Regions from separate parts of the Homo sapiens genome. Here region 2 is linked to region 1. The links are contacts of gene promoters, found by promoter capture Hi-C in blood cells and fetal thymus (Javierre and others, 2016). All regions are on one chromosome and are shown on one strand. The core of a region is centred on a gene start or on the middle of the fragment in contact, and the rest is flanking DNA. Distances in the headings are between cores, read along the strand shown.

Region 1 (5,269 bases), core at 1,832-4,331:
TTGCCCTCTGGCTTGGGCTCCTTTTTCTGGCTGGGGCCTGACACCAGTTTTGCCCACATTGCTATGGTGGGAAGAGGGCCTGGAGGCCCAGAAGTTGCTGCCCTGTCTATCTTCCTGGCCACAGGGCTTCATTCCCAGATCTTTTCCTTCCACTTCACAGCCAACGGCTATGACAAAACCACTCCCTGGCCAATGGCATCACTCTTCAGGCTGGGGTGTGCTCCCTGACCAATGACAGAGCCTGAAAATGCCCTGTCAGCCAATGGCAGCTCTTCTCGGACTCCCCTGGGCCAATGATGTTGCGTCTAATACCCTTTGTCTCTCCTCTATGCGTGCCCATTGCAGAGAAGGGGACTGGGACCAAAGGGGTGGGGATAATGGGGAGCCCCATTGCTGGCCTTGCATCTGAATAGGCCTACCCTCACCCACCCACCCAGTTTAATTGTGCTTAGAGCCCAAGAAGATTGGGATCTAGCACTAGGAATAAACCTTTCATAAAAGCAGGCCCAGCGAGGTCAATTTGTCGGGGACTCTAGGAGGGTGGCCTGGGTGGAGACAAGCTCAGTCTAATCAAACACCAGAACCCTATCAAGTCAAAAGAGCTGGGGCCAGGCAGCTGAAGTCACAGGTTTCAGAGATGGTTTGAAGGCCCAGTCTTCTCTCCCAGCCTCAGTTGGAGCCAAAGCTTTGTCCTTTAGCCAGCACCAAGATAGCTATGGATCTTAAGAGCACCAGATCCAGAGGGGGTTGGGTTTGCTGACCTTCATCATGCATTCATTCATACAGCAAATATTTACTGAGTGCTTTCATTTGCCAGGGACTGCGTTAGGCCCTGGGGAAACATCAGTGAATAAAACACGGTCCCTGCCCACAGTGCTTAGGGCCTACTGAGGGAAAGAAGTAACCAGGCAACTACAAAACAGTGATAAGTATTAGGATACAGAAGTACAGAGGGCGCTGTGGGAGCACAAAGGAGGGGCATCTGGCATGGACTGGGGTGGAAATGGGGATGTCAGTTTGAAAGCTGAGACCTGGCCAGGTGCGGTGGCTCACTCCTGTAATCCCAGCACTTTGGGAGGCCGAGGCGGGCGGATCACCAGGTCAGGAGATCAAGACCATCCTGGCTAACACGGTGAAAACCCATCTCTACTAAAAATGCAAGAAAATTAGCCCGGCACGGTGGCTGGCGCCTGTAGTCCTGTAGTCCCAGCTACTCGGGAGGCTGAGGCAGGAGAATGGTGTGAACCCGGGAGGCGGAGCTTGCAGTGGAGCCAAGATTGCGCCACTGCACTCCAGCCTGGGCAACAGAGCGGGACTCCATCTCAAAAAAAAAAAAAAAAAAGCTGAGACCTGAAGGGTGAGTAGATGACAAACAGGCAGGGTAAAGGGAAGAGCATCCCAGGCAGAGAGGCTAGCATATAATGAAGGCTCTGAGTAGGAACTGGGAGGAATTGCTTGGAATGAAAAATGAAGAGGGAGTGGCTAGATGAAGACTGCAGGCTGGTTAAGGACTTTTGCCCTCTGGAGAAGGAGCTGAGAAGTGTTTTAAGCAGAAATTTGACTGCATGGGAGAAGTATAGAGTTGAGAAAAGTAGTCCTCTGAGGCTTAAGATAGTGTCATCTAGACTCCAGTTCCCTCATCTTGGGTAGCATAGTAGCCCCAGCCCAAAACTGCAAGCATGATCCCCGTCTGGGTTTCCTTCACAAGCACTGGAGCATCTTGTGCTATGTGCTGAACTCAGGTGGATAAGAGGTTGAGGCGGTTCCCAAAGCTCCTGCTGCACCCAGGTGTTGAGCCTAAATCTGAACCTTGTGGAGAGGTCACAAGAAAGATCCCTAACAGCACTTTGGTTTAGTCAGGGCTAGGTGTCATCACCTGTATGCCCTTTGGCCAAGGAAACCAGAATTTTTCAGGATTTTCCCCACCTCTGGAAGGCTGGAGGAAGGGGAAGACCCACTCAGCAGATTCCCATAGTGCAGGGATCCTCACAGGCATGACTTTGCCCTTTGTCATGGATACTGCAGCTCCCAGACAGTCTTCTGGGCTTTGATCAGCCTGCAATCATCTGACTAGAGCTTGATTTTTGGGGCAGGGAAGGTGGTCCTTATATGAGCTGCCACTTAATGGGCCACTGGGGATTTTTCAACATGAAAGGTACCGAGTCTCCAAATGCTGGTTGTAGGGCCTAAAAACAGGGCTCAACTCCAGGTTCTGCCACTTTCTAGCTGAGTGATGAGGGCTAACGTCTGGGGAGCAAGATCCCTATTTTTTCCCATTGTAAAATTGGGCTAATAAAAGATGCTACCTACTGACTATTAAATAATATATGTAAAGTGGCTAGTTCTGTGTCGGCACATAATAACCACTCAGTCCCTGTAAACTGTTACAATTATTTTCCACTTGGGGCTGCTTTTTGCACAAGGCGATGATTCTGAGAATTGTCCAGTGTCTTTGGTGTGAGGAAGGGAGTCGCTGGATGGTCTGAACCAGAATTTCCTCAGGAGGGGGCTCCTGAAGCGCCCAAAGCCTAATCAAATCCCCCACCTTTCTACCCCTTAACTCCTTCTCCCAGAGTTCTGGGTACTGCCCTTCTGCCGCCCAGAGATCGTGCTGAGGTACAGACGGTTTCTACGTCTTCCTGGTCAGCCGATAGACTAGCATATTCCATAGGAGCACTCCAAGGAAGCCGGAAAGGGCGCCTCCAGGAGGCAGGCGGCCCAGACAGGCTCCCAGAGTCCGAAATCCCTGCTGCCCCAGCTGCCTTTTCTTGACGGAGTCTCATCTCAATCCCTGAGACCGACTACACCGCCCTTCCCGGAGCCGGAGGCAGCTGGCGGAGATCCGGGATCCGAGATCCGGGATCCGGCTCGCCGGCCCGCCGGCTCCCTAGCAGCACCAAGGAGGCAGCGTCCGCAGGAGGTGGAGGCGTTGGCGGGGGGGCGTGCGGGTGCGGTAGGGGTGGGCAGGCGGGGTGGGCGGGGCCTCCGCGGCGGCGGGCGGGGCGTGGGTGGGTCTTCCCTACTGGAGTCACCCCCTCCCCCGGCCGGTCCGCAGCCCCGCCCCGGCCCCTCCCTCCGGCCTGTGCGGCTAGTCCGGCGGCGGCGCCGGCGCGGGGACAGGCGGAGGCGCGGGCAGGGCCGGGCGGACGGGCGCTGGCAGCAGTAGCAGCGCCGCGGGCCCTTCAGAGTGGCCGCAGTCCGAGCTTTGCCCTCGCATCCTGTTCCAACGCGGTGAGTGCGACGGGCGGGCCCCAAGGGTGCGTTTGTATTCCTGTCAGCCCGGGTCTGGGTCGGAGCGTCTGTGGGTGGGGGCACAGATGATTTTCAAAAGCTGTGCCTCTCTCTGCCCACGTGAGGCGTGTCCATGTCCGTGAGAGCAGCAGGGGGATTCTTCGGGCTGTGGCTGCTCACGTGAGGTCCCTGTTTTGAGGCGGGGAGGCGCGGGTGGATGGGTGATGGTTCCTTAGGGGAGCGCGGGGTTTGGGAGCTTGTGTGTGTTGGCGGAGGGTGCTGAACGCTGCGGCCGAGGGTGGTGGTGGTGGTGCGTGCTGAGTGGGACTCTGGAATATTGTGGCCCATCTTGTCTGAAGGGCTCTTTTCTCCCTGGTGCAGACACCTCCACCCCTTGCTCCCCCACCCCCACCCTACCCCACCCCCCGCCCCTTCCATCCTCTGGTACCCACAGGCCCACCAGTCAGGATGGAGGACACCCTTTCCTCCCCATGCACTGCTCTGTGGACAGAAAGCCTCATGTGGAGGCTGTTTTTTTGTAGGAAAGGACCCCTCTGGTTCTCCTGTAGCCTGAGCCCTGCCTGGAGGACCCCAGGCCCCTCCCTGGTTCTGACCTCCTCCCTTCTGCAATTGGCTTCAGATCCTGGGCTGCAAACCTGCAGGGACAGATGGTTGCAGGTTGGAGGGGCAGGCTGCACCCCAGGGAGGTCAGTTCGACTGAGGGCAGGCCCTGGGCTTGTTCTTGGTGTGGGGGTTCTCTGATGTGGACAACAGAAACTCAGGACTGGCCCTAGCAGGAAGATCACATCTGGGAGGTCACAGCAGGTGCAGAAAACATCACAGGTCTCCCTTGGCCAGTCTGTCTAGCTCACTGGTGCCCATTCATCCCCTAAGCAGGGGATGATTTGCTGCAGAATTGGAATCAGAGCTGCAGGCCTGACAGTAGCCCTGCCTCCTTGGGCTTGTATGCCTCCAGTGACAGAGCACTTGCTACTTTCTGCTGTGGAAAAGCTTCCTTATATTAAGCAGAGGTCTCTCTTCTTGGGACTTTATTCACTTGTCTTGTTACTGCCATTACTTTTGCATCTCTCTCTGATGAAAGGGAACTGCAGAGATTTAAACAGAGCTCTCCTGTAACCAACATATACTGAGTACTTCCTGTGTGCCAGGTACTGCCACAGCCACTTAGGAGACAATGGCATTCTTGCCGAGAGAACTTGAGCAAAGAGTCCATCGTTGGGATAGTATAGCCCAGGTTCAGAAAAGCAGAAAAACCATATGGTTAGAATAGAGAGCGTTCATAGAGTGTCACAGGTGACTTAAAACTCAGCAAACATTTATTTACGGGGGCGAGGGGGCAGGGGGAGTGTGGAGGGGAGGCAACTAAGACCATCCTCTAACACATTTAGCCTAACAGTGGAAACTAGAAGTCAAATCATCGAGGTAGTACAAGATGGGATTTAATCATGGGCTCATGGTACAATCTGTGGAAGCCCTTGGCTTGAGAGGGAACCTTGGGAATCTCAGATTTTGAGAAAACATCCCTCTTCTCCCAATTTACAAATAAGGGAATGGGGTTGGAACTTACCTAGAGTTTCACCTTGTGTTAGTGGAGTTAGTTACAGCATTAGGACTAGATCCTAGATCTCCTAACTTTTTAAACCTAGCCAAATTTCAGAGGCAGAATTGAGGATGTAGTCATAGCTTGTATCTGAAAGGTGAAAGAAAAGGTGTAATTGAGAAGACTACCAGGGTTCTCGCTTGTGTGGGTGGGTGAGTGGTGGTGCCTTTTATTTATTTATTTATTTAGATTTATTTATTTTTAGCATATTTATTTTTATGCTTTTAGGATGTAAAAGCATCATGTATAACCTCTGCCTTTTGGAGATTTGCAATCTTGTCCATCTGTTCCATATTTCTTAGTTTCTCATGTTTCTGTTTCTTTACTCACTGTTTTCCCAATGTACGTATCAATGTCCTATTTGTCTCTCAAGACCCAGCTCAAATACCCCTTCCTCTGGAAGCCTTCTTTATTCTG
Region 2 (5,103 bases), core at 1,374-3,873, 290 kb before region 1:
GTACAGGAAGCCTGGCACTGGCAACTACTCAGATCTGGTGAGGCTTCAGGGAGCTTTTATTTATGGTGGTGAAGGCAAAGCGGGAGCAGACATGTCACATGGCAAGAGAGGGAGCGAGAGAGAGTAGGGGAGAGAAGGTACCACACACTTTTAAACAATCAGATCTTGTGAATAGTCACTATTGGGAGGACAGCACCAAGCCATGAGGGATCTACACCGATGTCCCAGTCACCTCCCACCAGGCTCCTCCTCCAGCACTGGGGATTACAATTCAATATGAGATTTAGAGGGGACAACATCCAAACTCTATCAGAAATCTAGGGGTTTTTACACACCAATTCTCATCAATTATCAATTAAGGCGGCTTGGTGTAGGGCACATTAGTATCTTAGGCCATTCTGATCTTCTGGGCAAGTGGGCATAACTGGCATGTTAGCCAAAGAAAGTTCTGTTGCAAAAGATGGCTGTCAGATGTCAGCATGCCCTGAAATGATAAGTTAAAAGAATATGTAGTGGGCATTGCCCTCATTTGCTACAGTGTAAAACAATAAAGTTTATAACAATGAATTTCCAGAAGTATATTCTTAAATTTACTAGAATGTTCAAAAAGAAAAAGAAATAATTGAATGATGAGTCTGGTGGAGCAGACTCATAATTATCATGAACTCATAATAATATGAGTATATGAATAATAATATGCTCTAGTGGAGCAGACTCATAAATATTATGGTACATTATTTTAAGCTTACACTCCTTGACTCAACTTCCCAAAAGTTCAGTTAGATTATTGTCTCTATACTAATGTCATACCATAGAAATATTACCTGAAATCTAAAAATAAAACAATATTTGCCATGTACCTCCACATTCTAAACTGAGGTGCTACACCATTAGGGAGGACGTACATGGAGGTGATCAAGAGATGGCATACAAGCGTTAAGCCTTCAACTTTTTTAGGGTATGAAAGAGAGAGACAGTTGGAGGTTGGTGGAGAGGAATATTTGAAGTTATCTCTCAGAGTATTCTTTTACCCCTCCCTCCATAAGGAAAGAAGGAACTAATCTTAAGTTTGTTGATGAGAGATTGAAAAGTACTACTGGAGAACTTCGTGTCTCTTATCTGGAATTTGGTGAGTGCTAGAACAAGTACCTTCCTCACACATGCCCAAAGTAATTTATAGATTCAATGCTATCTCCATCAAGCTCTCATTAACTTTGTTCACAGAACTGGAAAAAACTACTTTAAATTTCATATGGAACCAAAAAAGAGGCCGCATGGCCAAGAAAATCCTAAACAAAAAGAACAAAGCTGGAGGCATCATGCTACCTGACTTTAAACTATACTGCAAGGCTAAAGTAACAAAAACAGCATGGTACTGGTACCAAAACAGATATCTAGACCAATGGAACAGAGAGGCCTCAGAAATAACACCACATGTCTACAACCATCTGATCTTTGACAAATCTGACAAAAACAAGTAATGGGGAAAGGATTCCCTGTTTAATAAAAGGTGTTGGGAAAACTAGCCATATGCGGACAACTGAAACTGGACCCCTTCCTTACACTTTATACAAAAATTAATTCAAGATGGATTAAAGACTTAAATGTTAGACCTAAAACCATAAAAACCCTAGAAGAAAACCTAGGCAATACCATTCGGGACATAGGCATGGGCAAAGACTTCATGACTAAAACACAAAAAGCAATGGCAACAAAAGCCAAAATTGACAAATGGGATCTAATTAAACTAAAGAGTTACTGCACAGCAAAAGAAACTATCATCAGAGTGAACATGCAACCTACAGAATAGGAGAAAATTTTTGCAATCTATCCATCTGACAAAGGGCTAATATACAGAATCTACAAAGAACTTAAACAAATTTACAAGAAAAAAAACAACCCCATCAAAAAGTGGATGAAGGATATGAACAGACACTTCTCAAAAGAAGACATTTATGCAGCCAACAAACGTAGGAAAAAAAGCTCATCATCACTGGTCATTAGAGAAATGCAAATCAAAACCACAATGAGATACCATCTCACCCCAGTTAGAATGGTGATCATTAAAAAGCCAGGCAACAACAGATGCTGAAGAGGATGTGGAGAAATAGGGACAATTTTACACTGTTGGTGGGAGTGTAAATTAGTTCAATGATTGTGGAATACAATGTGATGAGTCCTCAAAGATCTAGAACCAGAAATACCATTTGACCCAGCAATCCCATTACTGAGTATATACTCAAAGGATTATAAATTATTCTACTGTATAGACACGTGCACATGTATGTTTATTGCAGCACTATTCACAATAGCAAAGACTTGAAACCAACCCAAATGCCCATCAGTGATAGGCTGGATTAAGAAAATGTGGCACATATGCACCATGGAATACCATGCAGCCATGAAAACGATGTCCTTTGCAGGGACATGGATGATGCTGGAAACCATCATTCTCAGCAAACTAAGAACAGAAAACCAAACACCGCATGTTCTTACTCATAAGTGGGAGTTGAACAATGAGAACACATGGACATAGGGAGGTATCACACACTGGGGCCTGTCATGGGTGGGGGACTGGGGGAGGGATAGCATTAGGAGAAATACCTAAGGTAGGTGACGGGTTGATGGGTGCAGCAAACCACCATGGCATGTATATACCTATGTAACAAAACTGCACGTTCTGCACTGTACCCTAGAACTTAAAGTATAATAAAAAAATTTTTTTAACTGGTTGGTATTCTCTACTGAAGTTGAAGATATGTATATGCCATAACCAAGCAATTCTACTTGTTGTATATGCCTGACAGAAATGTGTGTATATGTGCACCAAAAGACATGTGCAAAACTATTTATAGCAACACTGTTTAAAATACCCCAAAGCTGAAAACAACCCACATGTTTGTTCATCAGCATAAAGGATAAATAAACTGTGATCTAGTCATACAATGCATTATACAACAAAGAAAATGAACTACGAGGCCAGGCGCAGTGGCTCACACCTGTAATTCCAGCACTTTGGGAGGCTGAGGCAGGCAGATCACACAGTCAGGAGCTCGAGATCAGCCTGGCCAACATGGTAAAACCTGTCTCTACTGAAAAAATGCAAATATTAGCTGGGCGTGGTGGCAGACGCCTGTAATCCCAGCTCTCAGGAGACTGAGGCAGGAGAATCATTTGAACCTGGGAGGCAGAGCTTGCAGTGAGCCGAGATCGTGCCATTGCAATCTATACTACAATGCTATAAACTATACTACAAGGCTAAAGTAACAAAAACAGCATGGTACTGGTACCAAAACAGATATATAGACCAATGGAACAGAGAGGAACTACAGCCTGGGTGACAAGGCGAGACTCTCAAAAAAAAAGAAAGAAAAGAAAATGAACCACAATAGCTCCATATAGTAACATGGATAAATCTTACAAACGTAATATTGAGTGAAGGAAGGCAGGCACAAAACATACATATTGTATCATTTCAATTGCCTGTCTAAGAAACATAACTGATGTATGGTGTTAAACTGCTTTTGGGGAGTGAGTGAAGGTATAGTGATTAGAAGAGGGCATAAGGAAAGAATACTGGGGTGTTGGTAATGCTCTGTAACTTGACCTGAATAGTGGTTACTGGAGTGTGTATGCCTTGTGCCAGATTCATTGAGCTGTACATATACATTCTGAGCATTTTTTAGTATTTGTATAACTGTTATATTTTAGCTTAAAAAAGTTATTAAAAAAAGATTAGCCACGTGTTTTGTAGTCATTTGACTCACTGAGGGCTAGTCTCTCTTTGAGTATGCTATTGATAAATAAATGTCCCCCAAAGATGTTCACATTCCTACTCCCCAGAACCTGTACATGGTACCTTAGATGGCAAAAAGGACTTTGTAGATGTGATTAAATTACCAATCTTGAGACAAGAAAATTATCCCGGATTATCCAGGTGGGTTCAATATAATCACAAGGGTCCTTATAAGAGGGAGGTAGCAGGGTCAGAGTTGGAACGATGCACCGAAACCCTTGAATGGCCATTGTTGGCTTTGAAGGTGGAAGGGGTCAGAAGTCTAGGAATGCAGGCAGTTTCTAGATGCAGGAAGGGCAAGGGAATGGATTTTACTGAGAGCCTTTAGAAGGAAGGAAGCCCTGCCAATACCTTGTTTTCGGCCCCATAAGACCTAATTTTGGACTTTAACCTCCAGAACTTAAGATAAATCTGTGGTTGTAAGCCACCAAATTGGTTGTAATTTGTTACAGCAGGAATAGAAAATTAACACAGTAGCTTACACATTGTGCTGGTCAGAGCACACTGCACATAATAGGTACTCTGCGAATGTGTATTGGATGAATGGACAAGCTCCCGACATGCCAGATTCTTAATTATGATGAAAGAATATTATAAATAAAGAAAGGTGTTTATGTCTGTGAGAATTCAAGACCGGTATCATGTGGTGTGAGCAGGCCGTTTTCTTCTAGTCTCTCTCCCACTGATCTTCCACATCTCAAGCTTTCCAGACTAAACACCTGGAGGTGCAGTGAACAGAGCACAGGATAAGGCTTTGACCTTATCAGACAACAAAAGTGAAGATGAAGATGTAGGTAAAAGTGTCATAATTAAAGCATCTTCTTACTCTACCGGAGACATTCATTTGTCTGGAAGGAGTTAGAATTCTTTATGAAAGAAAAGTAGAGAGAAATAAGACTGAGGTAATATTAGTCTTTTGACATCCAAATGGATTAATTATGCCATGCATCAACTTTAGGACTCAGTCACAGAAATGTAGCACATCACAGTCAAGTAGAGAGAGCCCCTGGGGTTTAACTTTACAAAGATGCCTTGAGTTTTTATGTGATTTAGATACTGAATTGAAACCTGGTGGGCTCTTATAGGCCTCCATAGCCGAATGAGTTGACTTGACAATAACAGAGTGTGGAATGCTGGACCAACTTGTAGGCTGGAGGATGTGGCAATCAACTCAGGGTTATGCAGACAGCAAAATTTTTCTTACAGCATTAGCAACTCAGAAACATTGTCCCTGTAGAAAGTGTAGACCCCATGTGAACTAGCCAGTTCAGCAGTGGTGTCCTGCAGAATGCTGAACAACTAGGTTC

What was found. Contacts are between HindIII fragments. The CHiCAGO score rates a contact against its expected background, and 5 or more counts as called.
Region 2: a contact is called between a fragment that was not itself captured here and the fragment with the promoter of TRIM3 in region 1, in 3 of 17 cell types (activated CD4 T cells, naive CD8 T cells and naive CD4 T cells). The highest score is 6.6, in activated CD4 T cells.

What each region holds. Positions count from the first base shown.
Region 1 is chr11:6,471,753-6,477,021 of GRCh38, reverse strand. It overlaps TRIM3 (tripartite motif containing 3), which reads left to right and starts at 3,081. Exons shown (of 12, transcript NM_033278.4): 1 at 3,081-3,231. It overlaps ARFIP2 (ARF interacting protein 2), which reads left to right. Exons shown (of 8, transcript NM_001376558.2): 8 at 1-503. RefSeq lists a silencer at 2,955-3,184 and enhancers at 2,542-3,480, 3,481-4,420. The HindIII fragment of the contact is 3,557 bases long and covers 688-4,244 here.
Region 2 is chr11:6,757,603-6,762,705 of GRCh38, reverse strand. No RefSeq gene overlaps it. Among named protein-coding and RNA genes, the nearest start is that of OR2AG2, 12 kb to the left of the region's middle. The HindIII fragment of the contact is 3,754 bases long and covers 747-4,500 here.